Linked DNA regions of Homo sapiens: regions 1, 2, 3, 5, 6 and 7 are each linked to region 4. Evidence: promoter capture Hi-C in 16 types of primary human blood cells and fetal thymus (Javierre and others, 2016). All regions are on one chromosome and are shown on one strand. The core of a region is centred on a gene start or on the middle of the fragment in contact, and the rest is flanking DNA. Distances in the headings are between cores, read along the strand shown.

Evidence for each region. The method cuts DNA at HindIII sites, captures the fragments that hold promoters and counts their contacts. A CHiCAGO score of 5 or more calls a contact.
Region 1: a contact is called between a fragment that was not itself captured here and the fragment with the promoter of HSDL1 in region 4, in 1 of 17 cell types (total CD8 T cells). The highest score is 5.4, in total CD8 T cells.
Region 2: a contact is called between a fragment that was not itself captured here and the fragment with the promoter of HSDL1 in region 4, in 8 of 17 cell types (M2 macrophages, M1 macrophages, total B cells and 5 more). The highest score is 8.0, in M2 macrophages.
Region 3: a contact is called between a fragment that was not itself captured here and the fragment with the promoter of HSDL1 in region 4, in 4 of 17 cell types (M2 macrophages, endothelial precursors, megakaryocytes and 1 more). The highest score is 8.4, in M2 macrophages.
Region 5: a fragment that was not itself captured here is called in contact with the fragment with the promoter of HSDL1 in region 4 in 3 of 17 cell types (neutrophils, naive B cells and total B cells); the score reaches 5.3 in neutrophils.
Region 6: a fragment that was not itself captured here is called in contact with the fragment with the promoter of HSDL1 in region 4 in 2 of 17 cell types (M2 macrophages and megakaryocytes); the score reaches 5.7 in M2 macrophages.
Region 7: a fragment that was not itself captured here is called in contact with the fragment with the promoter of HSDL1 in region 4 in 2 of 17 cell types (M2 macrophages and M0 macrophages); the score reaches 7.8 in M2 macrophages.

Annotation. Positions count from the first base shown.
Region 1 is chr16:83,798,516-83,802,140 of GRCh38, forward strand. CDH13 (cadherin 13) reads left to right here. Exons shown (of 14, transcript NM_001257.5): 14 at 1-2,125. The region is part of intron 2 of CDH13-AS2 (CDH13 antisense RNA 2); the gene reads right to left. Among named protein-coding and RNA genes, the nearest start is that of CDH13-AS2, 3.6 kb to the right of the region's middle. The HindIII fragment of the contact is 354 bases long and covers 1,752-2,105 here.
Region 2 is chr16:84,500,967-84,504,444 of GRCh38, forward strand. All of the region lies in intron 1 of MEAK7 (MTOR associated protein MEAK7), which reads right to left. Among named protein-coding and RNA genes, the nearest start is that of MEAK7, 2.0 kb to the right of the region's middle. RefSeq lists an enhancer at 3,103-3,478 and a silencer at 3,434-3,478. The HindIII fragment of the contact is 627 bases long and covers 1,640-2,266 here.
Region 3 is chr16:84,445,410-84,448,761 of GRCh38, forward strand. ATP2C2 (ATPase secretory pathway Ca2+ transporting 2) reads left to right here. Exons shown (of 27, transcript NM_014861.4): 16 at 920-1,021; 17 at 3,124-3,280. Among named protein-coding and RNA genes, the nearest start is that of ATP2C2-AS1, 20 kb to the right of the region's middle. The HindIII fragment of the contact is 223 bases long and covers 1,990-2,212 here.
Region 4 is chr16:84,143,379-84,147,142 of GRCh38, forward strand. HSDL1 (hydroxysteroid dehydrogenase like 1) reads right to left here and starts at 1,799. Exons shown (of 6, transcript NM_031463.5): 1 at 1,702-1,799. DNAAF1 (dynein axonemal assembly factor 1) reads left to right here and starts at 1,930. Exons shown (of 12, transcript NM_178452.6): 1 at 1,930-2,186. The coding sequence starts at 2,063. RefSeq lists silencers at 1,224-1,273, 1,324-1,373, 1,534-1,983. The HindIII fragment of the contact is 7,366 bases long and covers 1-3,764 here.
Region 5 is chr16:83,821,362-83,824,886 of GRCh38, forward strand. No RefSeq gene overlaps it. Among named protein-coding and RNA genes, the nearest start is that of HSBP1, 15 kb to the left of the region's middle. The HindIII fragment of the contact is 6,129 bases long and covers 1-3,525 here.
Region 6 is chr16:84,480,781-84,484,642 of GRCh38, forward strand. MEAK7 (MTOR associated protein MEAK7) reads right to left here. Exons shown (of 8, transcript NM_020947.4): 6 at 1,812-1,930. Among named protein-coding and RNA genes, the nearest start is that of ATP2C2-AS1, 15 kb to the left of the region's middle. RefSeq lists an enhancer at 2,483-2,984. The HindIII fragment of the contact is 7,713 bases long and covers 1-3,862 here.
Region 7 is chr16:84,463,811-84,467,525 of GRCh38, forward strand. ATP2C2 (ATPase secretory pathway Ca2+ transporting 2) reads left to right here. Exons shown (of 27, transcript NM_014861.4): 27 at 1-377. ATP2C2-AS1 (ATP2C2 antisense RNA 1) reads right to left here and starts at 3,551. Exons shown (of 3, transcript NR_146503.1): 1 at 3,494-3,551. The HindIII fragment of the contact is 1,340 bases long and covers 850-2,189 here.

The DNA.
Region 1 (3,625 bases), core at 679-3,178, 340 kb before region 4:
ACTCACAGATAAAGAAGGCTGAGGCTCAGAAAAATTGAATGGCTTGCCCAAGGTAAGTGGCCTCCAGAACCAAACCTCAGGCTATCTGGCTCCAGGGTTCATGTTCTTCCGACAACATCACAATGCCACTCTCAACCCAGGAGCAAAACCAGACAAAGTGCCTACTGCAGACCGGAAGACCCTCGTTTGAAGCCTCCATTAGCGTGACTATGCAGCTAGACCAACTTACTGTTAAGCAACAGTACCTTTTACTATGAGGTACCCTTTACTATTAAGTACCTTTTACTAACAGTATCTTCTGTTACCTATTATTAAGTTCATGCTATACTTCTTCAATCTGAAAGCTTTCTGTTAAAAAAAAAAATGTTAACATCGTTCTAAATTAATATTGAGACCTTAGAAATTTTTCCTGTGCAAGATAACGTAATTATTTGCCCCTTCCCTTCCATGGCTTGTTAGCAGGTAGATGAGGGGCTTCTCCTAGATTAATTTAACATCTCAGTTAATCAAAAGTAGCCGGGCATGGTGACTCATGCCTGTAATCCCAGCCCTTTGGGAGGCAGAGGCGGGTGGATCACTTAAGGTCAGGAGTTCAAGACCAGCCTGGCCAGCATGGTGAAACCCTATCTCTACTAAAAAATACAAAAATTAGCTGGGTGTGGTGGTGCACACCTGAAACCCCAGCTACTCAGGAGGCTGAGGCAGGAGAATCGCTTGAACCCAGGAGGCAGAGTTTGCAGTGAGCCATTGCACTCCAGCCTGGGCAACAGAGCAAGACTCCGTCAAAAAAAAAAAAAAAAAAAAAGAAAGAAAAGGAAATTTATGAACTCCAGAGTACCCATTCACTACCAAACCAACTGAGGGGAGAGAAAACTGAGGGAGAAAGTGGGGTGGGGTCTCAAAGGGTTTGCACTGTGCTTTGCTATAAATCATTCAAAGGGGCAAATTCTAAAGGATCTCTAAGTAGTTGCTGATTTTGTAAAGGTAGCCCATAAATCTGTTTACGTGTAGCTGCCTTAAACATGAGTCAACAGGGTAAGTCACACCAACAGGAAACCCAAGCACTAAAAAAGCCACCTACCTTTTCTGTTTACCAAATACTAAGAATAATAATCTAATAATCTGGCTACATCTTTCATAAAGACCTCCATCTTCTCTCCTTAACTGACTGTTGAGATTTGATAATTTTCACAGTCTAATGATAAAATGCTTTCAAAATGGTTCATCTAACACAATTAACAATTCTTTTACTATATGCAATGTGTTACCCTTACTATATTTCCTATTGCTAATAGATTAGCCCACTATTGAAAAAATTCTGCAGTTGTGACCGTGTTCACATGAAAGCATATACAAGACATGGAGAGACAGCAAAAAATGGTGGGAATGGGTGTGTGTATGAGGGTTTCAGATAAGAACTTCAATTATATAATTTAAGAAGAGTCAGTCTATAATTTAAGCAGAAATAATTGAGATACTCATCAAATTAAGTAAGCGGAAAAATTTCCTCTCTCTCATACTATGTTGCTATCATCACATCTATCGTTGGAGGGTTGCTGAGCTTGATACGCCTTTGAACCATTTTATTTGACTTTCCACGTGCCGTCTCATTGGTAGGGAGATGGTGAAAAGCGTTGGGTGGTGTAGGACGAGGGAGGTTTTCACTCTGAAGCTATGAAGATTTGGAGAAAGGGGCTTATAGAAGCACTATGAAAATAAACTGGAGACTATTTTTTTGCTACTTTTTAAAAAGCTTTTTCTTTAGAGAGTACTAAAGCCATTCTATATCTGTCGTACACATGAATTCAGACTATTATTAGAGAGTTATATCTGTGTTGTCATGCACATGTCAACACTGTCCTGATGACAAAATTTTATGTATCCCCCCAGATAAAAATTTTAAGAAATTTTAAATGCTTTTTATTCACACACACTTTTCAAAAGGGATAAAAGTTAATCATGTTAAAATATTCAGTCTATGGCAGATGTCGCTCCTTTGGGCCCTCACTGCTGAATTGCTTACAGTTTCTGAGCTGTAAACTAACATTTGCTTTACTATGTAGTTACAGAGAAATGTGCAACTTGTTTGTGAAACATTCAAATAAAGCTTATCTGGGATTTTTAACTTGTGTGTTTAGTCTTAGACCATCTTTAGTACAGTCTGGTCTAAACACTGTGACAGAGCAAAGGGACCTTTTTTTCCAATGGTGCACAGTGTCATGGGTGCAACTGGCTGGTGCCGGTGTTGTGGATGGTAAAAGAATTTACCGGCAGGGCGTGGTGGCTCACGCCTGTAATCCCAGCACTTTGGGAGGCCAAGGCGGGCAGATCACCGGAGGTCAGGAGTTCGTGACCAGCCTAGCCAAAGTGGTGAAACCCCATCTCTACCAAAAATACAAAAATTAGCTGGGCACAGTGGCGCATGCCTGTAATCCCAGCTACTCAGGAAGCTAAGGCGGGAGAATCGCTTGAACCTGGGAGGCGGAGGTTGCAGTGAGCCGAGATAGCGCCGCTGCACTCCAGCCTGGGTAACAGAGTGAGACTCTGTCTCAAAAAAAAAAAAAAAGAAGAAGAAGAAGAAGAAGAAGAATTTACCAATTTACCAAGACAGTTGTAGGTAAAGAAAGGCTGATTATTCAAGGGAAAGTACGTTGCAAGGAAGCAACAGGCAGCACAGCAGAGAAGGGGATGTCTGGAAAGAGGCAGGGGCTGGAGGGAAGTTTTATAGGGTTGTGCTGGAGGATGTTACACTTGGAGTGAGGTAGTTGTGCCAGCGGCTTGTTTGTGATTAGCTGTCTCTTGGAACAGTTGTTCCCTACCTGGGACCCCCCTTCCTCATTGTTGCTTACTTATCAGGACTCCACACCAGGTTAGCCTATGATGTTTAAAAACCAAGACTAAAACCAAGTGCTGCCTGCTTAATAATTGGCTCTCTTCTGCTTCTTTCATAAAAGTCAATCATTCTGATTTGGAAAAACAGATATATAGATGATAGAAGGATAGATGGATAGATGATAGAGAGAGAGAGATAGAAAGAGAGAGAAGATAGCAAGAAGGTTAGTGAGATCATTTTGTAAAAAAAGGAGGGGGCCAGATGTGGTGGCTCACGCCTGTAATTCCAGCAATTTGGGAGGCAGAGGTGGGCCGATCACCTGAGGTCAGGAGTTCAAGACCAGCCTGGCCAACATGGAGAAACCTCGTCTCTACCAAAAATATAAAACTAAGCCAGGTGTAATGGTGGGCACCTGTAATCCCAGCTACTCAGGAGGCTGAGGCAGGAGACTCTCTTGAACCTGGGAGCCGGAGGTTGCAGTGAGCCAAGATAGTGCCACTGCACTCCAGCCTGGGCAACAGAGCAGAGCAAGACTCCAACTCAAAAGCGAAAAAAAAAAAAAAAAAGGGAAGGGGGTATTCGTTAAGTGCTTCCTACGGGCCGGATACTTTACGTATCTATATAGATGTGTATATACATATTACCTTGTAGTTATATTTGTAATTTATGTGTAATACATAATTATATATCATATACATAATTTATGTAATAGACATTAGCACCATTCTATAGATGAAGAAACTGAGGTTCACACAGTTAAAACTATCTCACAGTAGGTCTCACGACTACTAA
Region 2 (3,478 bases), core at 703-3,202, 360 kb after region 4:
CACCTGTAATCCCAGCTACTTGGGAGGCTGAGGCAGAAGAATTGGTTGAACACGGACAGCGGAAGTCGCAGTGAGCCGAGACCACGCCACTACACTCCAGCCTGGGCAACAGAGTTAGACTCGTCTCAAAAAAAAAAAGAAAAAAAAAAAAAAAAAAAAGAGGGGAAACAGAGACAAGGGCATGGGGATGGGTGTGGCCTGGGGGTGTAACAAGAAGAGTGAAGAGTGGAAAAGGTCCCAAAGGTCACATTCCAGCTGAGTCTTCAGAGACTCACAGGTGATTCACCAGGAAGTGGGAACAGCACGCACGGGGCATAAGCAAGAGCGTTGGGATCAGCGAGGCAAGGGTGGAACTCAGGGCACGTGGGGGAGGGCAGCAGAGGGCTGCAGCAGAAGGGGGCCCAGGCCTGACTCCACCCAGCCCCTCACTTCCATCCCACCCCAACTCCCACTTTCTGCCAGAAACAGGCTCCCCCACTGTGGTCGGAGAACAGCAGCAGGGTGCAGCCTGGCCAGCCCTCACCAACCCCAGACAGCCGGGAGAAAGGTGCAGGGCTGGGCAAGTGCCAACAGGCAGGACAGGAACCCAGAAATGCACAGAAGCGGCGCAGACCAGGGCAGGCCCAGGAGATGACAGGAAAGGCTTGGACGCAGAGCCAGGCTGGCAACGCCACTTTTTCAAGCAGGAGAGAGGAGGTTGCATGGGAGGCCCCAGTAGGAACCCCAGGGCTGGTGCCAGTGAGGTGGGAAGGTGGGCAGCCCCTAAGAACACAGCGCTGTCCACAGCACTGCCATTCTTAGTACCTGCAGAGTGCTGGTGAAGGGACACGTCTCAGAACGGCTCAAGGACAGCCCGTCTCCTTTGAGAGCCCCGTGCCAGGCAAGATAAAGAAATGGCAATGGTGTGGTGGCTCACGCCTGTAATCCCAGCACTTTGGGAGGCCGAGGCGGGTGGATCTCCTGAGGTCGGGAGTTCGAGACTAGCTGGACCAACATGGAGAAACCCTGTCTCTACTAAAAATACAAAATTAACCGGGTGTGGTGGTGCATGCCTGTAATCCCAGCTACTTGAGAGGCTGAGGCAGGAGAATTGCTTGAACCCAGGGGGCGGAGGTTGCAATGAGCCAAGATCATGCCATTGCACTCCAGCCTGGGCAACAAGAGTGAAACTCGGTCTCAAAAAAAAAAAAGACAATGCACGCTGGTGCTGGTGCTGACAGCGCACATCAAGGTTGCTTGTACCAGTGGAGCTCGACTGGAGCAGTTTCGTCCCCCAGGGGCATTTGGCAATGACTGGAAAAGTGTGTGGTTGCCACAACTGGGGGAGGGGAGTGCCGTTGGCATCTAGCAGGCAGAGGCCAGGGATACTGCTAAAAATCCTACAGTGCACAGGATGGCCTTACGACGAGGAAGTGTCCGTCCCAGACATCGGTAGGGCTGAAGGTGAGAAAACCTGGCTTCTGAGGATGTAGGGCAGCGGAACAAAATGGAAGCGGAACTTGATACAAGGGAACCCACAGAAGTCTCGAGGCCAATGTAGGGTTGTGTTATGCACAGCTTTGCAGAGAAGAGGCCACCCCATGTACCCAGGTGTACTGTGAAAGTCCCATGACACCGAGAAAACTTGCCAGGGACTGAAAGCTTTCCATCATCAAGCCTATAATCCCAGAACTTTGGGAGGATCATTTGAGGCCAGGAGTTTGAGACCAGCCTGGGCAACATAGTGAGACTTCGTCTCTGCCAAAAATACAAACCTCAGCCGGGTGTGGTGGCGTGTGACTATAGTTCCAGCTATTCAGGAGGCTGAGGTGGGAAGATCGCTTGAACCAGGAGGCAGAGGTCGCAGTGAGCCAAGATCACAACAGTGCACTCCAGCCTGGGTGACAGAGCAAGACTCTGTCTCATAAAAACACAAACAAAAGTTCCAGCAGCCCATAATAAGTGACCAAGATGTTTTGCTTGACCAGACTTTAGTCAGGCTCCTGGGCCCATCTGTGTACCTCTTTGTAAAATCTGGTTTTAGCAAAACAAAAAACAAACAAACAAAAAAACCCACAAAACCACTCATCCTTGATATTTGATCACCATTATCTGTTCACTTGCTATCTAACCAGGTTTAATGCTTAGGTTAGGGATATCCAATCTTTCAGTTTCCCTGGGCCACACTGGAAGAACTGTCTTGGGCCACACATAAAACCCACTAACAATAACTGATAAGTGCATATATCTACATATATGGTAAAAAAAAAATCTCATGTTTTAAGAAAGCTTATGAATTTGTGTTGGATGTCATTCAAAGCCGCCTTAGGCCACATATGGCCCACGGGTTGGACGAGCTTGCCCTAGGTGATGTCTGATCACCCTGGCCTGCCTTCAGTAACAAACTGCTAGGTAAGCTTACCCAGAATCCACCCTAGCGCCCTGATGTTTCCTCAGTCATCTTCCATCCACTGATCCCCACCCTGCTTCCTGGCTTCCCACTTGCCCATGCTATAATCAGAGTTGAGCCCAATCTCTCTCCTTTACTACAAAATCCCATTGCTGTGGTCCCTATACCCATTGCAATGGTCTTCAATAATTAATGTGCTTTTAATAAGCATCATTAATTAATTTCTTTAACATAAGGTTGAGAAGATTAAATAAGGTAACCCAGGGCATTTGATCTGCTTACTGGAGGTCAGAGACAGAATAATGGGCCCAAGACAACAGAGAATGGCTCCTTGGGATCTTGTCTTAGAACAAGAGAAACTGCCCTGCTTGGAAGAAACGGAAGGTTGCTCTGCCTCCGTGATGGAGGGGTGGACAGGGACCGATTGTCTGCAGGATGGCCCCCAAGGTTCCCACTAGTATCCTAGGAATGGCTTAGTCACCTCCTGCTCAGAGCTTCTCCAACAGGCTGTTACATGGCTGCTTCCCACCCTGGCTGCCAAGCTCCAACTCTCTACTCCAAGGGCCCCGCATCCCTAGAGCCACACAAGGGTCCCTCCGTACCCCCACAAGCTGGGGAGATTCCAACTGCCTCATCTGGACAGGCTTCGAAGTCCTGTCTGTGTCTCAGAGCCCAGAGGCCCTTGTGCGAAGGGGCAGCTTGAGCCTGGGCAAGAAGTTCCTGTGGGCCAGAAGGTGACCTGTCCTGTGCTGGCCACCTACATGGCCTGGGAACAGTTATCAGCTCACTGTCCTGGAAAAGCCCAGATGGGTGTGGTCAGAATACAAGAAGGAAAACCCCCTCCACACACACTTCAGTGTCTACCCCAGACTCGCCTCCTCCGTGGAGGCACCCCTCCCTTTCCGCGTCTACACAGGCTCTGAATCCCCCTTCAACACGGCTGGCCTTGGCCCTGGGGGAAGCACCTCGCCACCCTCTTACCTTGACCACATAAACAGCGGGAGGTGCAGGATGATTCTGATCCCCCCCAGGAGACCCTCCCTCCATCCCGCCCCGCTGTCCCCACCCCTCACCTCCCCGCAGCCTTCA
Region 3 (3,352 bases), core at 851-3,350, 300 kb after region 4:
ATGTTAGTCAGGATGGTCTTGATCTCCTCACCCCGTGATCCACCCGCCTCGGCTGCCCAAAGTCCTGGGATTACAGGCATGAGCCACCATGCCCGGCCTTCCTCCTCTTATATCCAGTCATGTTGGCTTAGGGCCAACCCTAATAGCCTCAAATTGACGATATCTGCAAAGGCGCTATTCCAAATCAGGTCACATTCAGAGGTTCCGAGGTTAGGACTTCAACATATCTTTTGTGGGGTACAATTCAACCCCACTAAGGAGATGGTTTAGGCATTTCTTCCCTAATCACCCCACTCCCTCCCCATGAAATTTAATATGGTAGATACACTGTATTGTACGCATATCTGCACTTTCTACGTAAAAGGAGTAGTTTTTTGTGCCCCTGCTGCACCGCATTTTCACCCCCTGTGGGACAGTGGGATGCATGGGTCATGACTGGTTTACACCTGGGGAAACTGAGATTCTGAGTTGTCACATCACTGATCCAAAAGCCACCAAAGAGCAACAAAGGGCCAGGCTGGCAAGGACCCCAGGCTGTGGACGGGGGGCTGGCAAGGACCCCATGTTCTGGACGCAGGGCTGTCTCACTGACTCAGGGGGTTCCGTCTGAGAAATTGCTACACCTTCAAGTCTGAAACATTCCTCCCGGCAGAAACACTGCAGGTTTGTTTCTAAGCAGATTTCAGATAGAAGCTGTTGCAAAGACCGTCTTGTCTGCCCTTCAGCCAAGAGAAGAGACTTTTTTTTTTTTTTCTAGGTGGGACATTCCAAGAGAAATGGCCTTTTTTCTATGTGCTAAATGCTTGGATTTCTTATCTGCCAGAGGTGGTTTGAACAATGAATAATTTAAATGGACTGAGCTTTGTATAGAGATTGGCTTCGGATGACTCACTAAAAATGTGTCATTTTATTATGCTAGATGGACTTAAGTGATATTAAAAATTCATATATAAGAAAAAAAGAGATTCCATTCAGTTCAGAGCAGAAGTGGATGGCGGTGAAATGCAGTCTGAAGACTGAGGTGAGACCTTTCAATCTTCAACCTCTTCTCTCTTTCTGCCCGGGCCCCCACCCAGAGATAAAGCAAAATGCAGACTTCAAGGATAATTTGAAAGTTCCTGGCTGCTTCTGTGACGTTCCAAATACATGGAAAAACTTAATCACCATCATACCTTTGATTCTCTTGGGTCTGCTTCTGGCTTTTTGTTTAAAACAGAAGTTCTTAAAGCAGGGTCCCTGGAGTAGCAGCGGTTGTTACCACGCGAGACTTTATTAGAAATGCAGAATCTCAGGTTCCATGCCAGACCTCCTGAGTCGAAGGGTCCAGGGGTGGGACCCAGTAACCTTCATTTTCTGCAGATTCTGATGCAGGTGCAAATGTTGAGATCGACCAGCCTGTAATCCAGTGACTGAGGCCCTGCTGCTAACACCAGTCGCCAACTTGCCAGTCCTCTCTTTGCAGCCCTGTGCTAAGTTTTTTATACTTCTTAGCTCATCTCCCCGTCATACTGGGGAGCAAATCCTTCAGTACGGAAGGCGTGTCTGTGTGGTGCATCAGCGTGTGCACACGTGTTGTCCCTGGCTAGAGGAACACATACCAAGCTATGGCCACCCCGGGTGGACATTACAGCTGATTTTTAAAATTTTCTTTTCAGATTTGTTGTGGCTTTTCAGATTTTCCTTAAAAGCTATTTTTTAAAGTTTTTGTTGCCTTCTACCGTTTTCTCCACCCCTCCTCTTCCCTCCCACTCTTTCTAGAATCTATCATGTCTGCCCACGCAGACTGCTCAGCTCCCACTCAGGGCTGTGGGCAGCTCAGCCAGCTCATGCCAGGCCCTTCCTGTGCATGGATGGACACATGTACATTTCAGGGGCTTAGAAGGGATTATAGATTTTCAAAAAACTTTTAGACCTTTAAATCTTTTCCCTTGCAAGGCAATGGTAATATATTCTCATTGAAAAAGTATAGAAATATGACATAAAAATGAAAGCTTCTTTCATTCCACCCTTCTTCCCTCCCTCCCCACCACCCACCCAGAGGTAATTCTATTTTAAGTCTGGGATGGAGCATTGCAGATTTTAAATATGCAAACGACAACATCTGGATGGTATTTTCAAAACAAGGTCACTATTTATAGTGTGTGTAATTTGCTTTTTCCCCCTAAGATTTTCTTTTAATATTATGTCTTAGATGTCTGTGTTGGTTAATATAAGCTTGTTATATTAACATATTAATTATATAATATGTAATATATATTACATATATTACATATATTATTTAATATATATTATGTAATATATATTATAATTGTATAAGAATATATTAGTTATATATAATATATAATATACATATAAATAATATAATGTAATATAATACATATAAATAATATACAATACATATGTACTATAATTAATGTATTAACATCTGTAATTAATATTATATTTATTAATAACATTAATATGTTAATTACATATTAATAACATATATAATTAATATTATATTATCTTATAACAGTGTTACATTCACACTGTGCACCCACGTGAGCCAGGTATGTCCGGTATTGAGGCTAGGGGTACAGTGTGACTCTCACTGACCCAGGGCCTCCCCCCGTGGAGTTCATAGTCTACATGTTTGTCATGACAGAGCTTAAGAAAAACACAGGAAAAATGATCAGCTACTCATGTGGCTTCACTATTACAAGCCAAGTGCTGGGGGTGGGTACAAAATAGACTTGGTGCTGCCCTAGGGAGGCAACAGTCTAATGGAAATATTCCCAGTTAATCACACCCCCAAAGGCACAGTCCCAGCTGGGATGATACCTCCCGTGCATGAAACATACAAGACGCTCTGAGTGACCATAACAAGGGAACTGAAAAAAGAACAAGGGTAGTACAGGTTGAAGATTGGCCTTGTTCTTTCTCTGGACTGCAAAACGTTCCATGGATGGATTCTAGAACTTCGCGAACCTGTCCAGCACCTGTGAACAGCACCAGCCTATGATAAATAACTCCGCTGCAAAGATCCCCGTGTGTGTCTTTGTAACCTTGTGCAGAGTGGGGTGATGGTCAGTATGAACCAAGGCTTCCAGTGATAGTGGATTTCTTCCCTTTGTCTTTTCTAAGGATCAGGAAGACATTTACTTCATGAAAGGGGCCTTGGAAGAGGTGATCCGCTACTGCACCATGTACAACAACGGGGGCATCCCCCTGCCGCTGACGCCCCAGCAGAGGTCATTCTGCCTGCAGGAAGAGAAGAGGATGGGGTCGCTCGGTTTGCGGGGTCAGTGCCTGTGGTCCCGGCCCAGAGCTTTAAGCTTGCATGTAACATTGACTTTTAAGTGCATTCAAGCAG
Region 4 (3,764 bases), core at 549-3,048:
GTATGAAATGTCCAGCATAAGCAAATCCATAGAGACAGAAGATAACTTAGGGCTGCTGAGGGACAGGGGGAGAAAAGAGGTATGACTGTTAATGGGGTTGGGGTTTCTTTTGTAGGTGATTAAATGTTCTGGAATTAGTTACTGGTGATGGTTGCATAGCATTGTGACTATAGCAAGAACTACTGAGTTATACACTGTAAAATGGCTAAAATGATAAATTTTATGTCATGCGTAAGTCATTTCGATTTTTGAAAACCTACTTTAAAAAAAAGTAGCACCAATATGTTCAACTCTGTTGCCCTAGAATATTCCAGCAGTGATTAAAACCACAAACTTGGCCGGGTACAGTGGCTCATGTCTGTAACCCCAGAACTTTGGGAGGCCAAGGCGGGCAGATCACTTGAGGCCAGGAGTTCAAGGCTACCCTGACCAACACAGCGAAACCCCGTCTCTACTAAAAAAAAAAAAAAAAAAATTAGCTGGGTGTGGTAGAACGTGCCTGTAATCCCAGCTACTCGGAAGGCTGAGGCAGGAGAATCACTTGGGCCCGGGGTGCGGGATGGCGGGCAGAGGTAGCAGGAGCTGAGATCGCAGGCACCATTGCACTACAGCCCGGGCGACAGAGCGAGATTGTCTGAATCAATCAATCAATCAACACCCTCCCCCTCCCCCTCCCTCTCCCTCTCCCTCCCTCCCTCTCTCTCTCTCTCTCTCTCCTGTGGCGGTCAGAGTAAAATTGAGAGCTCACTTTATGCAAAAGACTCTGCTAAGTGCTTTATTCCTATTGTCTCACTTTATTCTCTCATTAATCTTATAAAGCGCAGTCAGACTCTCCCGTTTATAGATGGGGAAATTGAGTCTTATAGATGTAAAGTCGCACACCCAAGACCCCACAACTCAGAAAGGGGCTACCTGCAATTCAGATGGAGGTATAGCAAGGCGCAGAGTCCTGTCCAGGGAGCCCACTGTGAGACCCCCCGACTGCCTCGCAGTCACCTGTACACATCATGTTGGGATCGCCGAGGGGCGCTGCAGCGATCCGGTTTCTGGGGCTGCGTCTGGGTGGCACGTTCAGAACGGGGACCTGCCTGGTTCTTCTTCCCAGCCCTTCCCCTCCAGCACCCGGCAAGGCCCAGTCAACACGAGCAAACTCGGAAATCCTGGCTGAACCCACGACCGCTGCATATTTCCATTTTAGAAAAACACGGCAACAACAACTCAAACCAAATCGTTCAGAAATGAGAATAAAGAAGCACCGACAAAGGAGGCGATTGCTGGGGCCGCTCGGGGGAGGAGCCGGGTGAGAGGCTGCAGGGAGGGCAGGGCATGCGCCGGCGACAACGGGGTTCGCGGTTTGGGGGGCAAGGCCCGGGGGAAGAGAGAGAACAGGGGTGCAGCGCCGCGGCGGGGGGCGTGAGGATGGAGCCGGGGGAAGGGGGGCTCTGAGATGTGAAGGGGCGGGGCTGGGGCTTTTTGGTCTGAAGGAAGGAGTCTCACGGGACGGAGGGACGAAGATTTCCTGGGGTCAGGGGCGCCAAGGGGCTTCGGGGCCGGATGCAGCGGAGGGGGCCCGGGGCCTGGGGGGCGTGGTGAGAGCTCAGAGGGGTCTCGCCAAGCAGCCGGCTGGCGCTGAGGGGACCGAGGAGGGGTCTGGGGCGAAAGGACCGCGAGAGGGCGCCCAGGGCGCGGGGGGCGCGGTACCTGCAGGCCGGCAAAGTCTTCCAAACCGGTCCCGCCAGACCCGCGCGGCCGCCGCCCCCGTCTCGGCCGCCGGAGCTGCTGCCGCGCCGCGCCCTCACGTGACCCGCGTACGCGCCGGGGGCGGAGCCGTCTCAGACCCGCCCCCACCCCCCGGCGTCCCCAGCGCGCCGGTCCGTCCCGAGTGCGCGTGCGCAGCGGTTGCCTGGGCGACCGGGGAAGCGTTGGGCTGTAAAGACTAGGGCGCCAGCGGCTGGCGAAGAAGGAAAGAGGGTACTCTCTGGCTGGGCTGGGGCCGTAGCGACGTCCGCCGCGAACCTGGGCCCCCCAAAGCTGCGGGGCGTTCGGTGTCGCCGAAGTAAACATGCACCCTGAGCCCTCGGAGCCTGCGACAGGTGGTGCAGCAGAGCTGGATTGCGCGCAGGAGCCCGGCGTGGAGGAGTCTGCGGGTGACCACGGGAGCGCAGGCCGAGGGGGCTGCAAGGAAGGTGCCGACTGCCCCCCAGGGAGGGCGGTGGGCGAGGGGCAGACACGGCTAGGCGCTCCAGCCCCCTTCCCACACCACATACCCGATCTTCACAGCCAAATAATAACAATAATAATAATGGTAGCAAGCAACGCTCTGCAGTAGGGGCTTCTCTCGCCATTTCGTACTGAGGAGGAAACATACTTAAGAGGTTACAAAACTTGCACCAAACAGATAACCCTCGGCTAGTCAGTGACAGAAGAGACTTGGCCGGGTGCGGTGGCTCAACGCCTGTAATTCCAGCACTTTGGGAGGCCGAGGCGGGCGGATCATCAGGTCAGTCAGGAGTTCGAGACCAGCCTGGCCAACATAGTGAAACCCTGTCTCTACTAAAAATACAAAAAATGAGCTGGGCGTGGTGGCGGGCGCCTGTAGTCTCAGCTACTTGGGAGGCTGAGGCAGGAGAATCGCTTGAACCCGGGAGGCGGAGGTTGCAGTGAGCCAAGATCTCGCCATTGCATTCCAGCCCGGACGACAGTGGGAGACTCCGTCTCAAACAAACAAACAAACAAACAAGCAAACAAAACCCACCAGACTCAGGCCCAGACAGTCTGGGTCTCCAGAGCCCCAGCCCTAACCCACCACGCTATTCTCCCTGGTCCCAACTTTGATGCTTTAAATGTGTCCCTTTATTGCTATCACTATGTAAGATCAAAGGCTTTCTCTCCCTCCAGACTGCATGTTGTGTCAGGGCAAGACATCTTGATTGAATTTGGAGTCTAGTCCAGTGCCTGACCTAGGGTAGAGAGTCCGAATGAAGACTTGGTTCTGGGGTCAGTGTGTGATCCCCTCACCAAAGTTTGCCAGAATGGACTTGAAAGATAACCTTCATGGCCAGGCACGGTGGCTCACGCCTGTAATCCCAGCAATTTGGGAGGCAGAGGCAGGTGGGTCACCTGAAGTCAGGAGTTCGAGACCAGTCTGGCCAACATATTGAAACCCTGTCTTTGCTAAAAACACAAAAATTAGCAGGGCGTGGTGACGTGCTCCTGTAATTCCACTTACTTGGGAGGCTAAGGCAGGAGAATTCCCTGAACCCCGGAGGCAGAGGTTGCAGTGAGCCAAGGGGGAGGCTGAGGCTGCAGTGAGCCAAGATCACACCACTGCACCCCAGCCTGGGCAATGGAGCAAGACTCCGTCTCAAAAAAAAAAAAGGAAAGAAGGAAGCCTGGCTTCAGCTTCTGCTCCCACTAGACTTGGTGCCCTAAAGGAAACCTTTTAGTGATTACATTAAAAAACCACTTGATTTGTGTTCCAGTTTCTGAACGCAGGCAACAAATAAACCAGCTGATTTGTGTTCCAGGCAACAAATATATCTTAAGCATCAACTGTCCAGATGAACCTTGTATGAGGAGCCATAGGGAACTGGCATTACTCAGTGGAAAGACACTGGTCTTGGAGCCATTGACACTGGGTTCAAGTTGAGGCTCAGCAGCTGGCCAGCTTTATGGCTGTTGGCCCAGAGCTTAACCTCTCGGAGCCTTAGTCTCCTCATCTGTAAGCTGGAATAATTATACAGGAGTATAAGGAGAGAATTATA
Region 5 (3,525 bases), core at 855-3,354, 320 kb before region 4:
CCCCAGCTGTCTTTGCATGAGGTCCCACAGCTGACCCACCTCCTCCTGGGTGCTTTTTGTTCTTTACTGATAACGTTGATACAGTCGGATTCCAGACTAAGCTGGGCTCCAGAGTCCCCCTGTGTCTATGGGCTGCCTGCAGAAGAGAGGAGTAGAGGGCGAGTGGACGGACACAGTGCTCTGCTCTAAGACAAGGCATTGGTTGTTTAGGGTCAAGACACAGAAGCAACAAGCAAGGAGGACTGTGGGTGTTGACACCAAGGGCAGACCAAGGTCATGCTGGGCCCTGCAGCAGCGACTCTGCAGACCTCTCTCGTGCTCCACCATTACCCTGTGTGTGACTGTCCTGGGGCCGCCCTAACAAAGCTCCACACACCGGGGGCCTTAAAACAGCAGATATGGGCCAGGCGTGGTGGCTCACACCTGTAATCCCAGCACTTTGGGAGGCTGAGGCGGGCAGATCACGAGGTCAGGAGATAGAGACCATCCTGGCTAACACGGTGAAACCCCGTCTCTACTAAAAAATACAAAAAATTAGCTGGGCATGGTGGCGGGCGCCTGTAGTCCCAGCTACTCGGGAGGCTGAGGCAGGAGAATGGCGTGAACCCCGGAGGCAGAGCTTGCAGTGAGCCGAGATGGCGCCACTGCGCTCCAGCCTGGGCGACAGAGTGAGACTCTGTCTCAAAAAAAAAAAAAAAAAAAACAGCAGATATGTGTCCTTTCACGGTCTGGAGGCCAGACATCCAACATCAAGGGGTGGGCAGGGCTGTGCTCCTTCTGGGGCTCTAGGGAGGGCCTTCCTTGCCTCTTCCAGGTCCTGGAGCTCCTAATGGTTCCTGGCGGCTCCTAGTGGTTCCCAGCATCCCGTGGCTGGCAGCTGCATCACTCCCATCTCTGCATCCGTCATCACATGGCCTCCCTCCCTCCGCATGTCTGTGTGTCCTCACGTTCTGTTCTCCTCTCCATGTGTCTGTGTCCAAGTAAACTTCTTCTTATAAGGACCACAGTTGTTGGATTAAAACCCACCCAAATCCATGATGACCTCATCTTATCTAGTTATATCTGCAAAGACCCTAGTTCCAAATAAGGTCACATTCACAGATCCCAAGGGTGAGGATGTCAACATATCTTCTGCGGGGGACACAAGTCAAAGGACAACTCTGTGCCTGTTTTCCCAGCCCACATACCTGAAACCACCAAGCCACGTGTTAGGTACAGAGAGAGGCTCCCACTGGCCCCATTCACCCTTGCTCATCGGAGCGGCTCGCTCCTGTCTGTACCTGATCACAGGCACCATCCGTGCTCTCCCTTTATCCTGGCGTGCGTGTCCCCTCCCGGGCTCCCTTTGTCTGTGTATGGGTTTTGCCATTGTCCTGCAGACTCTGAAGACCCCTTTTTTTCCCCAGTTTTCATGAATTCATTTGGACTATCTCATGCTGCCTGGCTTGGCATCTTATAGCCAGCTTTTTAAAAGCAATCATAGCTGGTACATGAAGGGTTGATCTGGTGTGACGAAATTAAGCCTTTTTTTTTTTTCATAAGCAAATAAATTGGGAATTAAATTAGGTCCAAAATTCATCTGAGGCTTCTGAGAACTTGTTTGCAGAAAGCAATTGCTCTGGGACTGGCAACATTAGTAATCAAAGAGAAGCTAAAGAAAAACAGAAAATTGAAAAAAAAAAAAAAAGGAGGGAAATAAATTTGAATCAAGTTCATTTTTTCCAACATTTTATTTTGAAAAATTTTAAACATTCAACAAAACTAAAAGAATTTCTACAGTGAACACCTGCATACTACCTACAGTCAACTACTAACATATGACTCTGCTTGATGTATGATCTTTCTGACTCTGCCATGGCACAGGTCACAAGAGACTGCCAGGAGAGGAAGGTTCCAGGCTCGCCCTGAGAGGGGCCAGTGTCTCAAAAGCAAACTGTCCTCAAAGAACCTGTATTATCAACATTCAAAGCCCTTCAAGAGGCCAGCATTGCCATCAGAGTCCTTGTGGAAATATCCATTTTTCCCTGGCAGTAACACCAGCAGCCAAAATTTGTTTTAAAAATTATTGCACCGGCTGGGTGCGGTGACTCATGCCTGCAATCCCAGCATTTTACGAGGCAGGTGGATCACTTGAGGTCAGGAGTTCAAGACCAGCCTGGCCAACACAGTGAAATCCCATCTCTACCAAAAAATACAAAAATTAGCCAGGTGTGGTGGCTCATGCCTGCATAATCCTAGCTACTTGGGAGGCTGAGGTGGGAGAATCACTTGACACCAGGAGGTAGAGGTTGCAGTGAGCTAAGATCGTGCCACTGCAACATAATGAGACCCTATCTCAAAAAAAAAAATATTGCACATTCCTTTGTGTCAGTTTTGTCTCATGACTAGTGTGGTAAAATTTGGCTACCTACTATGTATCTGTTTATTAACGTGTGCAGTAGGTTTAAATATTCTTACAACTGCTTACATGAAATAATAATTGAATAAATAGAATGCTTCCATACTCTGCAGCCCATGATTCTGAAAATCGTCTAATGGGCTGCACTGGCTTCTCTGGGCTGACCTGGAAACATTGTCATCTTCACAAGTTCTGTACCAGCACAGTGCCCGGCACGAAGTAGATGCTCAGCAAACATTTGATCATTGGATAGATGCATATCCTGGCAAGCTGTGGTCGGACAAAAATAAATAAATAAATAAAATTTTTTTAAAAAAAGGATCCTATAGAGTCAGTATCAAAGGTCTGCTGTTGTACTGATTGGGGGGAAAGATCTCAGGATCTCAGGATGTCATCTTGACTGAAGACAAGACTGACTCGGGTAACAGTGCCATTTGCTCCTTGAATGCATCTCTCACTCCGGACTGAATATTCAGCTCCCTGCAAATCCCTATAAGGTGATTCAGGAACCAAGGGACAGGAAATTCTCTTCAGGATATTTACATTCTTTATCACTTGCTTTCAGCTGCAAGTGGCCAGTAATCTACCTCAAGGCACTGAAGCAAGAAAGGGCATTTGTTGACACTTGGAAGCTGGGGTTTGGGGGTCAATTCAGACATTGCTGATCCAGCTGCTCAAATTCATCAGGAATGGCTGCTGCCACTCAACTCTACCATCCTGTATGATGCCTTGGCCACCATGGAAAGATGGCCACAAGCAGTTCCAGCTGCATTCAAACCCCTCAGGCATCAACCCCTGGACAACAACAGCTTCCCTGGTTGTTTCCCAAAGTTCCCGCAAATGTCCCAAGGTTGCATCTCCTTGGTCTGATTTGGGGTATATGCCTATCTCTGAGCCAGTCACGGAAGCCAGCCAAGAGGAGTGGAATAATCTCATCGGCCAGGCCTGGTTCAGCACCCTACACTGAGACCAGGCATGGGATTAACCCACTCATCAAAGAACTGGAATTGAGGATGGGGGAGAAGAGCTACCTAAGTGGGATCAGGTGCTATTTACAGGCTACGTAAATTTAAGGCTCACCAAGCTCCAAATATTCAGGAAGGTGCACCTAATTTCCAAGTCTTTCC
Region 6 (3,862 bases), core at 349-2,848, 340 kb after region 4:
CAGCCTCTCGCCTTAAGTACCAGCCTGAGACAGGGGCGGGTGAGTGGTGAATGCCATCATCTTGTTTTCCTTAACTGTGAAATATATCAATTACTGCCATTTAAGCATCCCATGCCAAGTTACTAGAACAGTCATCTATGTCTCCAGACACCCACCCCATGGCTCTTTCTCAAGAAGATTTGCTGGCTGAAAGCACAAGTGACATCAGAGAATTAAAAATGTTAAATATATATAGAGAAAGAGACCTCCAGGGCCCAGGGCCCCGCCCAGTTAAGATAAGGGGAGAGGTGAACACAGAAGCTGACACTGCAAACCCCCTGTGTTGGGGCCCCAGTGCCCCGCTTCCGGGCAGCGATCCTCACCCCAAGACAGGCTGGGAAACTCAGCTCCGAGTGTGTGGCTTACAGGATGCGGAGGCAGACCCGGAGGCGGATGCGAACCCCTGTGCCTTCCACCCTCAGTCACATGGCTGGGCTCTGAGCTGTTCAATCTCACCCTGCAGAGAACCTCCTCTGGTCCCTGGTAGGCCTGTAACACCTGGCACGCCCTAGTTCTGACCTTGGGCAACCAGAGACCCGAGCACACTGCCCAGAGTTGACACGCGGAGCCGCTCTCTCAGGGCCAATGACGAGCGATGACCGGGGCCTGCCGGGTGCTGCCTGTGAGGCTGGCACCCTCACTCCTGCCGCCACCAGACCGCCCTTTCCAGAAGGTGCCAGGTGTTCTAGGTGGCCTGGCCACGCCCCTCCCTCTCTCCAGGGCAGCAGTGTGGTAAGCCTGGGAAGGACGCTGGTCCCTATATCGGACCAGCCTTCTCTGCCCTCAGCTCTGCAGAAACAGGGCTGGATTTTCCCAATAAGAGCTTTCTGTCAGCTGGGCGCAGTGGCTCACGCCTGTAATCCCAGCACTTTAGGAGGCCAAGGCGGGTGGATCACGAGGTCAGGAGATGGAGACCATCCTGGCTAACATGGTGAAACCCCGTCTCTACTAAAAATACAAAAAAATTAGCCAGGCGTGATAGCGGGTGCCTGTGGTCCCAGCTACTTGGGAGGCTGAGGCAGGAGAATGGCGTGAACCTGGGAGGCGGAGCTTGCAGTGAGCCGAGATCGCGCCACTGCACTCCAGCCTGGACAAGAGTGGACTCCATCTCAAAAAGAAAAAAAAGAAAAGAAAAGAGCTTTCTGTCAAGCAGCAGAGGAAAGAAATCAGCAGGGGAGCTGGCAGGAGCAAGCTGAGCTTCGGCGTGGATGCTGCCCCAACTCCTGCCCTCGGGCCTGCCTGGACCCGTGCCCACCCACTCCCTGCACCCGGCCTAGGCCTCCCCCGCTTCCCCCTGCTTCCTGTGCCATGTCACCAAGCTGAAGCGAGGGCTGGACAGGAGCCACGGTCACCCCAACTGGGGCCCCACATGCTGTCTCATGAGCTGCCGGCCGTCCATTCCCCTTGGTCCAGCACTCCCACGTATGAGGCAGGCCAGCGACGCGCAGGGACAGGTCTGGCGCTGACACCATCCCTAGCCACAAAGGCTACAAACCAATCATCTGAGGGCCAGAAAAATGGGCCAAGTGTGCCATCTGCACACAAACCACTGAGAAGCCCCAGCAGAGGCCACATCCTTCTCTAAGGGAAACCCTGGCCCAGCTGTCACTGCCCCCAGCACCGGCCCTGGAAACAGAAGGAACTGGACATGGCGTGCGTGAGGAACTGAATGCCACGCGCCCTGCCCTGATCTGTGGAGCTGAGCCTCGGGGTTGACACCTTTGCTGGGGGACATCACCAAGGCAAGACCACCACGCTCTGCCCGGGCTCACCAGTCCGTTCGGGATCGTCTGCTGTCCATGGTTCAAGTACATGTAGTGGTCGTTGTAGCCCGTGTGTGTGTACACAGCCATGCTGGGGCAGATGGAGAACAGGAAGCATCTGTTGTCCCCTGAAAGTAGCCAGAGAACAAAACAAACAGGGTCGGTGTCTGAGCCGGTCCCACAGGGCCGGAAATGCCGGTAAGCTGCAGCTCAGGAAGCAACAGGGCCAAGACCCTTCTCACCCATGTCCAGGTGTCGGCAGATCAGGGTTTGGGACAAGCTGCTAGGGACCCAGGTGGATGAGCTGGGGATGCAGGGATTAGAGGGACAGCTAATAAGGAATGGGACATCTTTTAGCTCTGGCCAGGGGAGCAGAGATCAGAACTCTGCCCACTGTCTGCTGGAATCAGTTCAGGCTGGCCAAGCACATCCGAGCCAGAAAGAGCAGGCTTCCTTTAGCTTATGAGCACGGGGCAGGTGGTCACTCCGCAGAGACTGAGGCCTCCAGCACAGCCTACCTGAGCAGGCAAGTGACGCTGCGTAGTGCTGACCCCGGCCTGAAAGAACGTACCATGCAGAGAGAGAAAACCTGCAGCTGCAGAGCTGTCCCCAGGGGCACGGCCTACGAAAGGAAGTAGTTTACCCTCGCCCAAAGGCATGGGGTGGGCACACAGGCCATTAAAAGAAAGGTACCAGTCAAAACTCTGGAAACTATGGGTCCCCAGTCTCAGAGACTCCTCCACTCCATAAGCACCTCAGCACTGGGGACAGGGCCGTAGGCCAGGCCTCGTCCTCGGAGCTCCCAGCGAGGGACACTTCCCACCATGTTCTGAGGACTTGGCCGGAAGGGCTGCCCGCCTCGACACCAGCATACACAACTGTCACAACAAGCTGGAAGGCTGCAGAGAAACAAGCTCATGGGAATTTGGGGTTGGGCTATTCATCAGGTGGGAAAGAAGTCACAGGAAGCAAATTGGGGGCACCATGATGGAACGCAGATAAGAAGGGGGCACCAAGACCAGGAGGCTGGAAGAGGACGATGGCCCCGAGCAAGCCAACAGGGCTCAGTCTGTAGAGTGTGGGCTGACACCGCCCAAGGCTCCAATCTAGAAAGATCGCTGGGGGGCCTCTGCCATCAGGGTCTGGGAGGCTTCTGGGAGGCAGCTTCCGAGGTCAAGAGGGAGGCCCTGAAACAGAGCTGGCTGGGGCAAGAGTCCCCATGGAGAAGGGATCCCATGAGGACAAGGTGTGGGACAGGTACGGAACAGTGGGGCTTGAGAGCATCGGGTGGAGGAAGGAGGATAGTTAGGCTAGAAAGTTCCACTGGAACCAGCTAAGTGAAGGGCTTTACTCTGGGCTACAGACTCAGGCTTGCTTCACTGGGTTTCAGCAGCCCCAGAGGCTTGAGGGCAGGTTTAGACGCCGCCATGAACAGCTGGGTCACACCCGTCTGCACTGCCCCCGCCCCGCTCTCCCCGACTGGACTTCAGGTAAGCGGCCCTTTGCTTTGCAATCCTGAGCCCGTCTTGCTGCGGAGCAAGGTCGCAGGGCCACAGAGTTCAGGCCTCAGCTGCGATAGGCCCAGATCCTAGTCCACCCCCAAGGGCTGTTCTCCATAGGGAAAGCCAGGAGGGGGAAGCATCATTCCCAGAATACAGGGCAAGGACCTGATGAGTTATGATTATCTGTGGAAAAAAGTGACACCAACAACGAGGACTCCTTATCTCATTCCCATAAAACAATACCCAAGCGTGCGGCCACCAGCACCTGACGCTCGGCCGCCGAGGAGCTGCCTGCCCACACAGCATGGTTTCGTGTAATTCTGAGGAGCTGAGGCCCAGAAAATGAATCAATCACCTTGCCCAGGGCTAGAGCTGGGACTCAAAATCCTGTGTTCAATCCAAAGCCTTGGGCCTTTTCAATGATTGCACAGAAAACACAAGCCAAAAGGCTCTAAGTATAATCAGTTCTTCTTTCCTCAAGCAAAAACACTCTGATGAAAACAGTCCTTTAAAAAGGTTTACGAAGCCACATTACCCCGCAGGGAAATATCCTCTGTA
Region 7 (3,715 bases), core at 270-2,769, 320 kb after region 4:
GGGAGACTTTTAGGAGGCCGCAGCCTTCCATCACCGGATCAGTTTTTCCTCTTAGGAAAGCTGCAGGAACCTCGTGGGCTCCAGGGACCCAGGCCCACATCCATCCAGCGTTCCCGCTGGCTGTGGGACAGACAGGGAGGGGCCTGTACAGAAACACCACACTGTTTATTAAATCACAATGATTTTTATTAACCATGTCTAACTACGTATCTGTGCCACAGCTTGCAGTGAGGCAGGCCACTCGTGGCAGATACAAGGGGCTCCTGAGAGGCAGTGGGTAGGATGGTCACACTCTGCCCATTGCCCTCCTGGAGGCCCCATTTCCTCATCATAAAATGAGGGACTTTTAAATAAAGTGCTATGCCGGGGGATAATTATTTTGATGTGTTTACCTAGGGTTTTTCATACAAGGGGCCAGGTTGGAAACCCACAGCCATGTGTTAATGGCCACGTGGGGTGAGCAGCAATCCATCATGAATGGCCTACAGGAAGGCCTCGGCTTTTGGACATAAAGAGTAGGGCTGGGCATGGTGGCTCACGCCTGTAATCCCAGCACTTTGCAAGGCCAAGGCAGGCAGATCACTTGAGGCCAGCCTGGCCAACACAGCAAAACCCTGTCTGTCTCTACTAAAAGTTTAAAAAAAAAAAAAAAAACAGTTGCCAGGCGTGATGATGCACACCTGTTAATCCCAGCTACTCGGGAGGCTGAGGCAGGAGAATGGCTTGAGTCCAGGAGGTGGAGATTGTACCACTGCACTGCAGCATGGGCAACAAAGCAAGAGTCTCTCTCAGAAAGTGGCCCTTCTCTCCGGAACCAGGAACTGTAGTATCTCCTGCTGCCTGCAGACAAGCTTGATTTCCCACTGCCCCAAAGACTTCCAAAAACCGATCTGCTCTTCCACGTGACAGATGGCAGAGGAGAGAGGTCTCCATGCTGTTCTTCTGCCTGAAGCCACGCCAGAACCACCAAAGGGAACCAGAAGGGGAACTCCGTCCCCATCTCTCAGGAAATAAGGCCAGAGCTAGAACCCCCCATTTACTAGTCAGGCCTCACTAGAGAAACAGAACCAACAGGATGGAGGGAGATGCAGAGATTTGTTTTAAGGAACTGGCTCATAGGATGTTGGGGGCTGGCAAGTCTAACATCTTGAGGGCAGGCCAGCATCCTGGAGACCCAGGGAAGAGCTGGGGATGCAGGCTGGAGGCAGAATTTCCTCCTCCTCAAGGGAGTTCAGCCTTTTCCTCTTATAGTCCTCAACTGATCGGATGAGGCCCACTCACGTTATGAAGGATAAACTGTTTGTTTTACTTCAAGTCTACGGGCTTACATGTTAGTTACACAGCGCCATCTAGACCAGTGTTTGTTTGACGAAAATCAACTTGGCCTGGCCAAGTTGTCAGATAAAAGTACCCGTTGCACCCAGCCACGGTAGCTATGAAAAGGGCTACCAGGGGTGGTAACAGCTGGGTCAGACGAAGATAAGGAAGGTCAGAGTGGACCCCTGCCAGGGTTCCAGGCAGAGTCCAAAGTCCTCCATAGTAGGATTCACAGCCTGGGAAGAAGCCCCTCTCTGGCTACAACCTGTGACACCAGGGCCACAGGAGGAGATGCAGCGATGGGCCATTCCTAGTGAGACACAGACACAGGGCTGGCTGGAGAAGAAACCTTTTGAGCTGTGGGGCTGTCTTCCTAGAAGCTGCCAACCCCTGGAACCACTAAGAGGTCAAGGCTGAAGTGTGCCACTTCCACAGTCTGCTAAGGAGTGCCTCCCCCTGAGTCAGGGACAATTCTTGCTCTACTTTTCAGGATCCTTGGGCACACTGCTGGCCCGAGACATTTACTTCCCATTTAAAATTAAGTAATCAAAATACCAGGGTCGATTACTCTGAACTCTTGCTTATGTAAACTTTAGGGATAAAACTGTAGTAAGACACAAAATGCTAACAATAAAATATAAATTAGACTACATTAAAACTAAGACCTTCTTTTCATTAAGGACACAGTAGACTTGAACACCACCATTAAGCAACTTAGCTTGATTTACACTTGTAGAACACCCCATTCACGAGTAGCATAGAAACAGTCACCAAAATAAAGAGCAGAAATCAAACGAAAAAGCAAAAATAGAGGAAAATCAATCAAAACCTAGTTTTTCGAAGAGATCAATAAAACTATCAGTCTTGCAATAAGCTTATCAAAGAAAAAAGGGAAGAGAAATGACCAATGTCAGGAATGAAAAAGTATATCACCACAAACCCTTCAAGATATTCCAACAATAATAATAAATAATACTATGTACATCTTTATGTACCTAAATTCAATCAATTGGATGAAATAAACCAATTGCTTGAAAACCAAAAACTACCAAAACTCACTGAAGATTAAATAGATAAGCTGAAGTTGAAACCCTTCCAAAAAAGGCAGTTTCTGAAGCCAGATGATTTCACTGGTGAATTTTACTAAACTTGTAAAGAAATGGCAATTCGATACACTGAATTCCAAAAATAAAAGGGGACCGAGCACTTCTCATTTTATAAGGTCAACAATCACTCTGATACCAAAACTAGAGAAAAATACTAGAGACCAACATCCCTTATGAATATATGCACGAAAATCCTCAACAAAATATGAGGAAATCAGATCTAGCCAGGTACGAAGAATATAAGACACCAGGACGAAGTGGGGTTAATTGAGGAATGGAATTCAAGCATTCCAAAGTTCAACATTCAAAACCAATATAACTGAAAAGTTCAACATTCAAAAACCAATATAACTCACTATATTAATAGTCTGAAGAAGGAAAAACACATGGTTATATCAATTAATGCAGAAAAGGCATTTGATAAAATTCAATCTCCATTTGTAATAAAAACTCTCAAACTAGGAATTGAAGGAAACTTCTTCAACCTGATAAAGAACATCTACAAAAAACCTATAGCTAACATCATACTTAATGATGAAAAACTGAATTCTTTCCCCACAGGATAAGGTCCAAGGGTGACCAGCCTCACCACTCCTATTCAGCACAGTATTAGAAGTCCTAGCCAGTGTAATATGGCAAGAAAAGTTAAAAGGCATTAGCAAAGAGCCTGGAAAGGAGAAAATCACAGATAACGTAATTGTCCACACAGAAAATCCCAACAAATCTTTTTAAAAAAGAAAAACCCTCGTAGAATCAACGAGTTTAGTAAAGCCACAAGATACAAGGTTAACACACAAAAAGCAGTCGTATTTCTATATATTAGCAATGAACAACTGGAAACTGAAATTTAAAATTGAATACTATTTGTCTGTCTCAAAAAAAAGTATCAATTCTCCCGAGATTGTTGTATTAGGTTTAACACAATTACCATCAAAATCCCAGGGTTTTTTTGTTTTTGTTTTTTTTTAAGACACAGATAAACTTGTTCTAACAAGCTTGGTATGATATTGTTATCAGCAGACCTATTTCAATTTCACTGGTTTTTACATAGTATCTGATGTTAGGCAAACCTGAGTTTAAGGGCACAGTGCTCCAGGTGGCTGGCCAAGTCTGCCCAGGCCTTCTGATACTGACTGCAGGTCCAAGAGTTTCCCACAACCACCTTCAGGTTGGATGATTCGTTGATGAGGCACACAGAGCTCACTGACACCTGTCATGCTCACAGCCATGTCTATTACCAGGAAAAGATACAGATTAGAACAGCCCCAGGGCTGCAACTGCAGAGACTGGTC